Regions from separate parts of the Homo sapiens genome. Here region 2 is linked to region 1. The links are contacts of gene promoters, found by promoter capture Hi-C in blood cells and fetal thymus (Javierre and others, 2016). All regions are on one chromosome and are shown on one strand. The core of a region is centred on a gene start or on the middle of the fragment in contact, and the rest is flanking DNA. Distances in the headings are between cores, read along the strand shown.

Evidence for each region. Contacts are between HindIII fragments. The CHiCAGO score rates a contact against its expected background, and 5 or more counts as called.
Region 2: a fragment that was not itself captured here is called in contact with the fragment with the promoter of ABCC10 in region 1 in 1 of 17 cell types (fetal thymus); the score reaches 6.1 in fetal thymus.

What each region holds. Positions count from the first base shown.
Region 1 is chr6:43,423,673-43,429,834 of GRCh38, forward strand. ABCC10 (ATP binding cassette subfamily C member 10) reads left to right here and starts at 3,869. Exons shown (of 22, transcript NM_001198934.2): 1 at 3,869-4,085; 2 at 4,296-4,467. The coding sequence starts at 4,307. It overlaps LOC105375065 (a long non-coding RNA gene), which reads left to right. Exons shown (of 6, transcript XR_007059585.1): 6 at 1,021-2,342. RefSeq lists enhancers at 1,823-2,344, 4,446-4,515. The HindIII fragment of the contact is 12,589 bases long and covers 3,681-6,162 here.
Region 2 is chr6:41,785,994-41,792,155 of GRCh38, forward strand. It overlaps TOMM6 (translocase of outer mitochondrial membrane 6), which reads left to right and starts at 1,701. Exons shown (of 3, transcript NM_001382294.1): 1 at 1,701-1,832; 2 at 3,239-3,343; 3 at 3,575-3,902. The coding sequence starts at 1,705. The coding sequence ends at 3,335. It overlaps USP49 (ubiquitin specific peptidase 49), which reads right to left. Exons shown (of 8, transcript NM_001286554.2): 8 at 3,903-6,162. It overlaps PRICKLE4 (prickle planar cell polarity protein 4), which reads left to right. Exons shown (of 8, transcript NM_013397.6): 7 at 135-339; 8 at 769-1,459. The coding sequence ends at 1,136. RefSeq lists a silencer at 249-768 and enhancers at 1,389-2,388, 1,459-2,148. The HindIII fragment of the contact is 2,118 bases long and covers 1,694-3,811 here.

The DNA of each region.
Region 1 (6,162 bases), core at 2,619-5,118:
ATCCATTCTGCAGTCCACGGATCAAGGAGTAATTTCAACTTTAGAGTATTTTATTATTATTATTATTTATTTATTTTGAGATGGGAGTCTTGCTCTGTCACCCAGGCTGGAGTGCAGTGGCATGGTCTCAGCTCCCTGAAACCTCTGCTTCCCAGGTTCAAGCAATTCTCCTGCCTCAGCCTCCCAAGTAGCTGGGATTAAAGGTACACACCATCATGCCTGGCTAAGTTTTGTAGTTTCAGTAGAGCTGGGTTTTCCCCATATCGGCAAGGCTGGTCTTGAACTCCTGACCTCAGGTGATCTGCCTGCCTTGGCCTCCCAAAGTGCTAGGATTACAGGCGTGAGCCACTGCGCCTGGCCTCAAGTATCATTTTAGAGACAGGGTCTCACTCTGTTGCCCAGGCTAGAGTACAGTGGCCCAATCATAGTTCACTGCAACCTTAAACTCTTGGGCTCAACCCATCCTCCCACCTCAGCCTCCTGAGTAGCAGTGACTACAGGTGGGCACTGCCATGCCCGGCTAATTTTTTATTTTTATTTTTGTAGAGATGAGGTCTTGCTATGTTGCCCAGGCTGGTCTCAAACTTCTGGCCACAAGCAATCCTCTCACCTTGGCCTCCCAAAGTGCTAGCATTAGAAGTGTGAGCCACTGTGCTTGGCCCAAGTATTATTTAGGAAATACATTCCATAAGGCTATAGCTGTCATAGACAGTGATTCCTCTGATGGATCTGGACAAAGTAAATTTAAAACCCTCTGGAAAACATTCACCACACTAGATGCCATTAGGAATATCTGTGAGCCAGGCATGTTGGCTCATGTCTGCAATTCCAGCACTTTGGGAGGCTGAGGCAGGAGGATGGCTTGAGGCCAGGAGTTTGAGACCAGCTTAAGCAACATAGTGAGACCCTGCCTCCATTAAAAAAAAAAGCGCTCTCTCTCCCCCCTCCCCCTCCCTCTCCCTCTCCCCACGGTCTCCCTCTCCCTCTCCCCACGGTCTCCCTCTCCCTCTCTTTCCACAGTCTCCCTCTGATGCCGAGCAGAAGCTGGACTGTACTGCCGCTATCTCGGCTCACTGCAACCTCCCTGCCTGATTCTCCTGCCTCAGCCTGCCGAGTGCCTGGGATTGCAGGCGCGCGCCGCCACGCCTGACTGGTTTTCATATTTTTTTTGGTGGAGACGGGGTTTCGCTGTGTTGGCCGGGCTGGTCTCCAGCTCCTAACCGTGAGTTATCTGCCAGCCTCGGCCTCCCGAGGTACCGGGAATGCAGACGGAGTCTCATTCACTCAGTGCTCAATGTTGCCCAGGCTGGAGTGCAGTGGCGTGATCTCGGCTGGCTACAACCTCCACCTCCCAGCCGCCTGCCTTGGCCTCCCAAAGTGCCGAGATTGCAGCCTCTGCCTGGCCGCCATCCCGTCTAGGAAGTGAGGAGCGTCTCTGCCCGGCCGCCCATCGTCTGAGATGTGGGGAGCGCCTCTGCCCCGCCGCCCCGTCTGGGAGATGAGGAGCGTCTCTGCCCGGCCGCCCCGTCTGAGAAGTGAGGAGCCCCTCCGCCCAGCAGCCGCCCCGTCTGAGAAGTGAGGAGCCCCTCCGCCCGGCAGCTGCCCTGTCTGGGAAGTGAGGAGCGTCTCCGCCTGGCAGCTGCCCCGTCCGGGAGGTGGGGGGCAGCCCCCGCCCGGCTAGCTGCCCCGTCCAGGAGGTGGGGGGGGGCGCCTCCGCCCGGCCAGCTGCCCTGTCCTGGAGGTGGGGGGCGCCTCTGTCCGGCCGCCCCTTCTGGGAAGTGATGAGCCCCTCTGCCCGGCCGCCACCCCATCTGGGAGGTGTACCCAACAGCTCATTGAGAACGGGCCATGATGACGATGGTGGTTTTGTCGAATAGAAAAGGGGGAAATGTGGGGAAAAGATAGAGAAATCAGATTGTTGCTGTGTCTGTGTAGAAAGAAGTAGACATAGGAGACTCCATTTTGTTCTGTACTAAGAAAAATTCTTCTGCCTTGGAATGCTGTTAATATATGACCTTACCCCCAACCCCCTGCTCTCTGAAACATGTGCTGTGTCCGCTGAGGGTTAAATGGATTAAGGGCGGTGCAAGTGCTTTGTTAAACAGATGCTTGATGGCAGCATGCTCGTTAAGAGTCATCACCACTCCCTAATCTCAAGTACCCAGGGACACAAACACTGCGGAAGGCCGCAGGGTCCTCTGCCTAGGAAAACCAGAGACCTTTGTTCACTTGTTTATCTGCTGACCTTCCCTCCACTATTGTCTTATGACCCTGCCAAATCCCCTTCTGCGAGAAACACCCAAGAATGATCAATAAAAATAAATAAATAAATAAATAAAAAACTGTGATTCATGGGATTCATGGGAGGAGGACAACGTATATCAACATTAACAGAAGTTTGGAAGAAGCTGATTCCAACCTTCACGGATGGACCTTCAAGACATCAGTGGAGGAAGTAACTGCAGATGTGATGGAAACAGCAAGTGAATTAGAATTAGAAGTGGAGCCTGGCCAGGTGCAGTGGCTCACACCTATAATCCCAGCACTTTGGGAGGCCAAGGCAAGCGCATCACCTGAGGCCAGGAGTTCAAGACCAGCCTGGGCCAGGTAGCAAGACTCTGTTAATTAATTACTAAAGATTGTGAAATGCAAACCTACATCTCTTAGTTTTTAAAAATAGGAAAATTAATTCTTGACGTTGAGGGATATGGGGCTTCTTACTGAGATTAAGTGGGATAACCATAATTGTCATTTGTTTAGCTTTTCTTCTTCAAGCACTGTACACACCTATGTAAAGGCGGATACCAACACCATGCCTGACAAACATAATAAAATAAAGATGCAGAAGTAACCTGCCCAACATCCCTCTGCTAAAAGCATTCAAACCCAGGTCCGTATAATTATAAAGGTTATGTTCTTCCCACTGCTTCCTTAAAAGATTTATTGGAGGACTACCCTAGGCAAAGCACTTGCCCTAAGCACTCTAAATTAATTATTCAACTCTCTCAACAGTACTTTAGTATTGGTATTGTCCCTGTTGTACAAATAAAGAAGTTGAGGCTCGGCCGGGGTGGTGGCTCACGCCTGTAATCCCGGCTCTTCGGAAGGCCAAGGCGGACGGATCACGAGGTCAGGAGATCGAGACCATCCTTGCCAACATGGTGAAACCCCGTCTCTACTAAAAATACGAACAAAAAAATTGGCTGGGCGTGGTTGCGCGCGCCTGTAGTCCCAGCTACTCGGGAGGCTGAGGCAGGAGAATCGCTTTAACCCGGGAGGCGGAGGTTGCAGTGAACCGAGATTGTGCCACTGCACTCCAGCCTGGTGACAGAGCGAGACTCCGTCCCCCCCCCAAAAAAAAGTTGAGGCTCAAAAAAGTTAGGTAACTTGTCCAAGGTCATGCAGCCCTAGAATAATAAGGGAAAACAGTGTGTCCCAAAATGGCATTATTTGTCCGTGGGGCAGGTATGTTTGAATTTCCATCCATCCATCTATCTATCTGAGACTGGGGTCTCGCTATGCTGCTTGGACTGTTCTCGAACTCCTGGGCTCAGGCCATCCTCCTGGGATCTACCGGCGCGCAGAGACTACGGGCGCGCAGGGACTACCGAGGCGCGCAACCGTGCCCGGCTCCCCACCTCTTCAAGAAATGGAGATTGCAATGCTTGTGCCAACTAGTAAGCTTACACAGTTGTGAGCGAATACTCCACGTGAGAGGTTATAAATGACGTTGCACTAAGGGAGGGATGGATCCTTAACGCAAGTCAGGCCACAAAAGCGTACCAAAACGCAACTGTGCGTCTGCACCAGCGCGCCTGCGTGCAAAGGCCAGCCGAAGCAGAGAGCAGTGCACATGCGTGCAGCTACCAGCATATGGGCGTGGCGAATAGCGCCGGCTAGGTCTTCCAACCTCTAGGTGGGGTGCCAGCCGGGGCGGGCCCAGCACCCCGGCCGGGCAGTACTTTTTTTTTTTTTGCATACACCAGTTCTCAGGATATCGGAATCCGGTGCACAGCAGCTTCTTCAGGTTTGAGGTTCCGGATGCCTGGGGGCGGAGAAACGGGAGGGGAAAAACAGATGGCAAGGTGGGTGACCAGCGTCCAGAAATCCACTGGGGAAACCTCCTCCCGTTTTTACCCTTGGTACCGCGAGAATGGGCGGGGTCTGGCTTCGGGGCGGAAGCGACGGGCGGTCCCGGTTCCAGGGCGGGGCTGGAGACAGGGAGACCCGGCTGGGAAGTGCAGGCAAAGCCGGCTGTTACCCTGCACAGCCGTCACCCTCAACTTTCCCTTCAGGTGAGGCGTCCATGGAACGACTTCTGGCCCAGCTGTGCGGCAGCAGCGCAGCGTGGCCGCTCCCGCTGTGGGAGGGGGACACCACAGGCCACTGCTTCACCCAGCTGGTGCTCAGCGCCCTGCCCCACGCGCTCCTCGCCGTGCTCAGTGCCTGTTACTTGGGCACCCCGAGGTGGGTAGAGACGGGCGCAAGGCATCTGTCCATGTGTGCCTGCAGATCTCACCCGCGGCCTACATCTTCCGGCAGTGTCACCAGAATAGCGAGGTCTCTGGAGTAGGGCAGAAGTAGAATAAAATCTAAGCATTGCTACTTAGCAGCAATGTGGCTGTTCTTGGGCAAGTACCTGCCTTCTCTGAGTCTCATTGTTGGGAGGTTTAAATGAGATAATGAATTTAAGCATATAGTGCAGCGCCTGGCATGTTTTTAAAGGTCCGATGAGTATCAGAAATCATCAGAATTGTCCATTTTCAGCTACCCGGACTCAGCTGTCATGAATTGGAGGCAGAATTGGGGGAACAACGTTTTTAGCCAAAAGCGATGATGTGTTTAAGTTGTAGGCTCAGTTTCTCACCACTGCAACCCATGAAACCTTAGTGTTTCCAGATTAAGAAAAGCATACCTAGGCTCAGCTGAAGAGGAAGCAGTAGATAGACAAGAAGAGCAAAATCAAACATTAAGCCTTCCCCAATTAAGGGCTATAAGGTGTGGATGCTAAACTCAACTTGATTTTGTATTTAGTTCTTGTATGGCTAGAGATGACTAAAGTTAGTCTCATTCTGGCTGCCGAGAAGATAGGAGGACGGTGTGGTCTCTGCCTTTGGGAGTTCCTAGTCTGATGGGGGGAAGTGTCTCTATCCAAGAGGTCTTTCTTGCTTTCTCATTAGACTGAGTTCCCAAAAGACTGTGCCAATTTTTAATAGCTGCTCTTCTGAGAAGGCTGTCTATGCTAGGTGATTAAACCCTTCTAGACTTTTGTCTCTGTGTAAGAAACAAATCAGGATTCCTCCCAGACCAAGCGGATACACAGCTTCTCCTATCCAAGGAAGGGATTCATCCGCCCCCTGGGAAAGCAAGAAAGACCATCATGTGATCAATAGAAATTGTGCTTCACTTCACTTATCAGCCTTGTGTGTGTTGCTGAGAAGGGTTAGAGAGATCGAGAATCTAAGACAGGAAAGGGCCTCAGAAGGCTTTAACTTGAGACTCACTGCTCACCATACTGGTGAGGAAAGTGAGATTCAGAGAGGAAAAGAGACTTGAAGGGGTGATGAGGCTGGTTGATGGCCAACTTGGGGCCAGTTTATGCCTCCAAGGGCCCAGTGTTCTTTCTTGGGTCCCCACATCTTAGGAAATATATATATTTTTTTCTTTTCCTTCTTTCTTTTCTTTCTTTCTTTTCTTTCTTGTGTGTGTGTGTGTGTGTGTGTGTGTGTGTGTGTGTGGCGGGGGGGAGGGGGGATTGTTATTGTTGTTTTGTTTTTTGAGGCAGCGTCTCCCTCTGTTGCCCAGGCTGAAGTACAGTGGTGCAATCACAGTTCACTGCAGCCTCAACCTCCTGGGCTCCAGCAACCTCTCACCTCAGCCTTTTGATTTGCTGGGGCCACAAGTGCATGCCACCACACCTGGCTAATTTTTTTAAAAATTATTTTTAATAGGCCGGGTGCAGTGGCTCAAGCCTGTAATGCCAGCACTGTAGGAGGCCAGGAGTTCGAGACCAGCCTGCCAACGTGGCAGAATGCCATCTCTACTAAAAATACAAAAAATTGGCCGGGCCCAGTGGCTCATGCCTGTAATCCCAGCACTTTGGGAGGCTGAGACAGGCAGATCACTGGAGGTCAGGAGTTTGAAACCAGCCTGGTCAACATG
Region 2 (6,162 bases), core at 1,503-4,002, 1.6 Mb before region 1:
AAGTGGCTGAGTGAATTAAATGGGAATGTGTGCAGACGTGCTTTAGCGTTAACTGGGTAAAAGGCGTGGTTACTGGATGAATGAATGAGGGAATGAATGAATGAAACGTTCCCCTCTCCCTCTCCCTCTCCCAGCTGATCTTCTCCTGGCGCTGCACCGAGGCGGAGGGACAGCGCTGGCATGAGAACCACTTCTGTTGCCAGGACTGCGCCGGGCCTCTGGGCGGGGGACGTTATGCCCTGCCTGGGGGAAGCCCCTGCTGCCCCAGCTGCTTCGAGAACCGCTACTCGGATGCAGGCTCGAGCTGGGCCGGGGCACTGGAAGGGCAGGCATTCCTTGGTAAGGGAGAGGATGCAGAGCAAAGCGGGAGGGAGCTTGGGCTGGGCTGTGGGGGTTCTCCCGGGCTGGGACCCTCGCCCCGGTCCCACGCCGTCCCGTCCCTCCAGGAGCGCCCCCACCGCACCCCCCAGACCCAAGCCTCGGGGCCCGCAGCTCTCACCGCGCATCCCTGGCCGGAGCGTTCCAAGGGCCGCCCGAACCCACCCCGCGCCGCGGTCGGGGTTGCGGCGCCAGACTCCCTCCCAGGCGCGGGAGGCGGACGCCCTCTGGTGGAGGCGGGGGACCCTGGCGAGGACTCTCGGCGGCGGCGGCGGCGCGCACGGCCCAGGGGCTGGGCGGGGCGGGAGGCTGGGCCTCACCCCCACTAGCTGCGGTGTAGGTCCAGCTCCGCGGCTCTGAGACCAGCGTTTCCGACCCGGCCCGGAACAGGGGAGACTGGACTCGACCGAACTGAAGGAAGGGACCAAACCTCGGTGAACTCTGCAACCCTCTCCCGAACACTCCTCGCTGCTGCCGGCGGTTCCAGCCTGCAAACTCAGAGGGGGCTGCCTGGATCCAGTCCCCAGCAGGAGAACCGACCTGGGGACAAAGCGGAGGCACCCAAAGGGCAGGAGCAATGCCGCCTGGAGACTATTCGTGATCCCAAGGACACCCCTTTCTCCACCTGCTCCTCCTCCTCTGACTCGGAACCTGAAGGATTTTTCTTAGGCGAGCGCCTTCCCCAGTCCTGGAAGACCCCCGGAAGCCTCCAAGCAGAGGACAGCAACGCCTCTAAGACGCACTGCACCATGTGCTAGTGGCGCAGCTCAGAGAGGGGATGTGAGTGGGAGGAAAGGGGTCTGTAAAGCGGGAGAACAAGGCTAGCCTCCCCCTAACAATCCTAGACTGAGACGCAGTCAGGCGCACGCCCGCAAGAGGCGGCGAGGTGACAAGTTTGGAGTGCGCCCCCTTCAGTACTGCGCGTTCTAAGACTTTTGGCGGAGACTTTCTTGGCAAAACCCATTCCCCAAAGCTACGCTTCCCCTGCTGAGATAGCCCCTACCCCCACCTCCACAGGCTGGGACAGCCCCGTCCCCACCATCCTCCTCCCAAGCCAATTAAATGATCACAGCACGCGTGACAGTTACCGGCTGGAGAGCCGGAGGTGGGACCGGGAGCAGGGGACCGTAGAACCGGGCCGCGCTCCTCCCCTCCTAGAGTTCGTGGAGGCGCAGCAGAGGGCCGTCCCTCTTCCGGATGTCGGACTAAGCGAACAGCGCCCCCACTGCCGGCCGGTAGCAGCCGGAAGTGCCAGACCGGAGGTGCGTCATTCACCGGCGACGCCGATACGGTTCCTCCACCGAGGCCCATGCGAAGCTTTCCACTATGGCTTCCAGCACTGTCCCGGTGAGCGCTGCTGGCTCGGCTAATGAAACTCCCGAAATACCGGACAACGTGGGAGATTGGCTTCGGGGCGTCTACCGCTTTGCCACTGATAGGAATGACTTCCGGAGGTAACCGAGCCCGAGGAACTTGGTCCTTTTCTGGCCCTTAAATCCGTATTTCCCCTTTCTTGCGAGGCTGGCGCCTCAGGGTTTTTTGTTTTTGTTTTTTAACATTACCAGCATTGTGGCGTCTTCGTAGCTCTGGCTGTGCCTCACTGAGATCCCTGGCCAGGAGAGTTCCCGTGTGGCAAAAGCGATCTTTCTGTCATGTGGCTGTATCTGTAATGTCACCCTGATCAAGGGAAGAAGTGCTAGCACGTAAACAGGCTTTTTCGGCCCTGGACTAGTGCTTTAGCTGGGCTTTGCGTTTGATCTTACATTTCTTTTTTGTTTTTTTTTTTTTTTTGAGACGGAGTCTCACTCTGTTGCCCAGGCTGGAGTGCAGTGGCGCGATCTCGGCTCACTGCAAGCTCCGCCTCCCGGGTTCACGCCATTCTCCTGCCTCAGCCTCCCGAGTAGCTGGGACTACGGCCGCCCGCCACCACGCCCTGCTAATTTTTTGTATTTTTAGTAGAGACGGGGTTTCACCGTGTTATCCAGGATGGTCTCGATCTCCTGACCTCGTGATCCGCCCGCCTCGGCCTCCCAAAGTGCTGGGATTACAGGCGTGAGCCACCACGCCCGGCCTTTTTTTTTTTTTTTTTTTTTTTTTTTGAGACGGAGTCTCACTCTGTCGCCCAGGCTGGAGTGCAGAGGCGCAATCTCGGCTCACTGCCCCTTCTGCCTCCCGGGTTCAAGCGATTCTCCTGCCTCAGCCTCCCCAGTAGCTGGGATTACAAGCGCGCGCCACCACGCCCAGCTAATTTTTGTATTTTTAGTAGAGACGGGGTTTCACCATCTTGGGCAGGCTGGTCTCAAACTCCTGACTTCTCGATCCACCCGACTCTGCCTCCCAAAGTGCTGGGATTACAGGCGTGAGCCACCGCGCCCGGCCACATTTATTTCTTTTTGAGACAGCCTCGCTCTGTCGCCCAGGCTGGAGTGTAGTGGCGGACCTCAGCTCACTGCAGCCTCCGCCTCCCGGGTTCAAGCGATTTTCCTGCCTCAGCCTCCCCAGTAGCTGGGATTACAGGCGCGCACCACCACGCCCAGCTAATTTTTGTATTTTTAGTAGAGACGGGGTTTCACCATGTTGGCCAGGCTGGTCTCGAGCTCCTGACTTCGTGATCCGCCTGCCTTGGCCTTCCAAAGTGCTGGGATTACAGGCGTGAACCACCGCGCCCAGCCTGACCTTACACTTACTAGGCACAAAAATGAACTCCAAATTCCCACGTGGGTCTTGAGCAACCTGCCGTCACAACCACGTATCAACGCCTCGGGAAGGTGGTGATGGAAGCCTTTCCCCCCAGTACATTTCGTTAACTGTACAACTGACTCAGTGACCACAGGGTTAATAAAACACATTGTTTTTCCAGGAACTTGATACTAAATTTGGGACTCTTTGCTGCGGGAGTTTGGCTGGCCAGGAACTTGAGTGACATTGACCTCATGGCACCTCAGCCAGGGGTGTAGCCAAGTAGGTAAGCACTGAACTACACCCATGCGTGTCTTAGGAGACCTAGAGACTGGGTGAAGCAATGTTTTCTGTCAAGTATTCATGAAATGTACAAAAGAATGTGATGTAAAACCCTTAACTATTCCTAGTTAAATGTGTTTTCAGATGTTGAAAGGGATTTAAGTATCTCTTACCAGTTTCCCTCCCATACTTTTACAGTTCTAATGCCACCTGTCGTCTTATCATCTGATTGCAGACAAATGGAATCCTGTGCTGAACCCGAATCTTCCAAAAAACAGCCTACAATCTGTGACCACCACAAGATGTGCCCTGATGGCAGCTGAAGTTTGATTCAGATGGGCACTTTTCTTCCCCTTCCCTGCCTAGTTTCCTTTTGTTCCTTGAGTCCACGCAGAATTCCATTCTCTGGTCAGCAGACAGGCTTAAGCTAAAGTATTGCCTCTATTCTGTAAAGTTCTGTACATAGTTCCCAAGCTTCTGCAGGGGGTGATTTTTGCTCTTGTCCTGAGAAATAACAGTGCTGTTTTAAAAAACATTTGAAATAAATACCGCACACAAAGGCAGTCATTTTATTCTTTTAATAAGAAACTTTTGCTTACAAAAACAAGGTGTAAAAAGATTTACAAAAATCATAAAAACATGATTTATATTTCACACTTGAGAGACAAAAACAAGCCCCAAAACATGGATTTTAATGGAGGTGGTTTGCTTCATTTTAAAAGGGAAAAAAAAAAAAGGAAGCTGTAACCATACATTGATGTTAACCTAGCATGAAGTTTATTCTTGAAGAATTTACATTGTTGAGCAATATTAGGGGAAGAAGCCATTTGGTGTTGCATAGCATTTTAGTGCACCAGATGGGTTTTCCAGACACCAGGGAGGCATCATTGCTGGAATAGTGAGGTTTGGTGGCAGAAAGAGGGCAGTGATGTGTAGGGGGAGGCAAAGTGAAGTAAGCCTGGGCAGTGGTCACTAAAGTGACACTGCTGAGGCAGCTGCTTCCTTCAGAAGGAAATGTTTTGTGACCCTAAAATTCATGGTAGTGCTACTGTCCAGGGTTTGGGGGCTCTTTGGAAATGGAGTATGTACGGAACTGGCATGTATAGACTTATATAGCCATAGAAAGAGGTGGATAGAAACAGGTCCACCATGGCAATATTTTTTTCTGGCCAGTTTACTAGGCATTAAAAAAAATACTGCTTTTATGTGCCAAGTCTCTTATGGAACTAGTATGGGATTAAAGGACGTTAATTGGAAAGGAGGGTCAGTATATAAGGACCACAGTGGCCTGTTAAGGATGACAGATGTCTCTAGCAGTTTGTTCACTACTAAAGTTAAACAGGACAAAATAGTCTTTCCTGACCTTGCTGGCATAAATATTAAGAAAATTGTTTGAGAATTAGATTTTTTTAGTATGTATATAAAAACAGCACCATTCTTTGTATAAATCAGATAGATCTTATCTGATAGATGAAGCTAAGACCCTTTGAGTCTACACTGGGTTGACTCTGAGAGGTTTATATCTTATTGGGTATTAAGATAAAGAAGGGTCACATGAGAGCAAAGCTTAGCTTTGAAGCCATCACCTCCCAAATGGTGACCAAGGAGGAAACTTTTAAGCCATAGTATAGATGCTAACCCCCATTTAGACCTGCATCAGATCACTTGCTAAGACAAGAAATACCAGCACCTCCTGTTCTTTATAGGAATGAAACTTAGATCCTTAAAGGCTGCTACCTGATATACTCATGACTGGACAGTTTTGATAAAAACTTCCAAAATTGAAAATCAAAATCCAGCAAGAATTAAGACATGGCAGCTTCCAAAAGCATAATTCAAATTTCATTCAAAATTTACTGTTTTGGCTTCAAGTAAGTGTTTACTGTTGGTTGGGTTTTAAAGCCATAATTATGGTTGAGTAAGGATTCATTTATTTATTTATTAAATTTTTATACATTTTTGAAAAGATTTCAAATCTATGTTTCCCAGGCTGGTCTTGAGCTCCTGGCCTCAAGCAATCCTCCCACCTTGGCCTCCCAAAGTGTTGGGATTACAGGTGCTAGCCAACTGCATCCAGCCAATGTTTCATTTCAACTGGCTTAAATCTTCAAAGTGGTTAAGAATTTAGTAAATAAAACTACTTAATCTACAACTTTCAAAAATTGATGAGTAATCACTAATTCTGTAAATGAAGGAGTTGGACTTCACTATTGCCAAAGCAACATTTTCCCCAAGGAAAGTCAATTTGATATCCTGTCACACTTTTCAGCCCTGGCTAGTTAACACAGTACTATGAAAATCTTTAGCTAGATTTTAAACGAAATATGCCAGCAGAAGTATGGAATGAGTCCACAAAAATGAGTGCCTGCCACAATGCTATAGTAGCTATGGTGTATTTAGTGCAGAGTGTGGGATGAATAAGTACATAGTAATTAAAGTCATAGTCCTGGCCCAACAGAACAGTTACTAAATGTAAGATACAAACTAAACTCACAGTCATATTTAGAAGGCGCTTTTCAGCTTTAGCACTGACTTAAAAAGTCTGAACCACCAGGAAGATGCGTACTTAACTGGTTAAAAAATTAAGTGGCCCTGGAAAGTTTTACCCCAAAGATACAACTTCTTCACTTATTTAGTTCAGTAATGAGGCTGAGGGACCCAATTTTCAAGTGTGCATTTGAGTGGGAAACTTTTAAACACCATATGTTGAAGTTTCATGAGCTCAGTGGAAACCTTAAGGTCAGAGTAAAAGAAACTGGCTGTAAACAGCCCTGCAGTGAAGAGACTGGGTCTTAGCACCTTCCACATTCACTCAGCGCCATC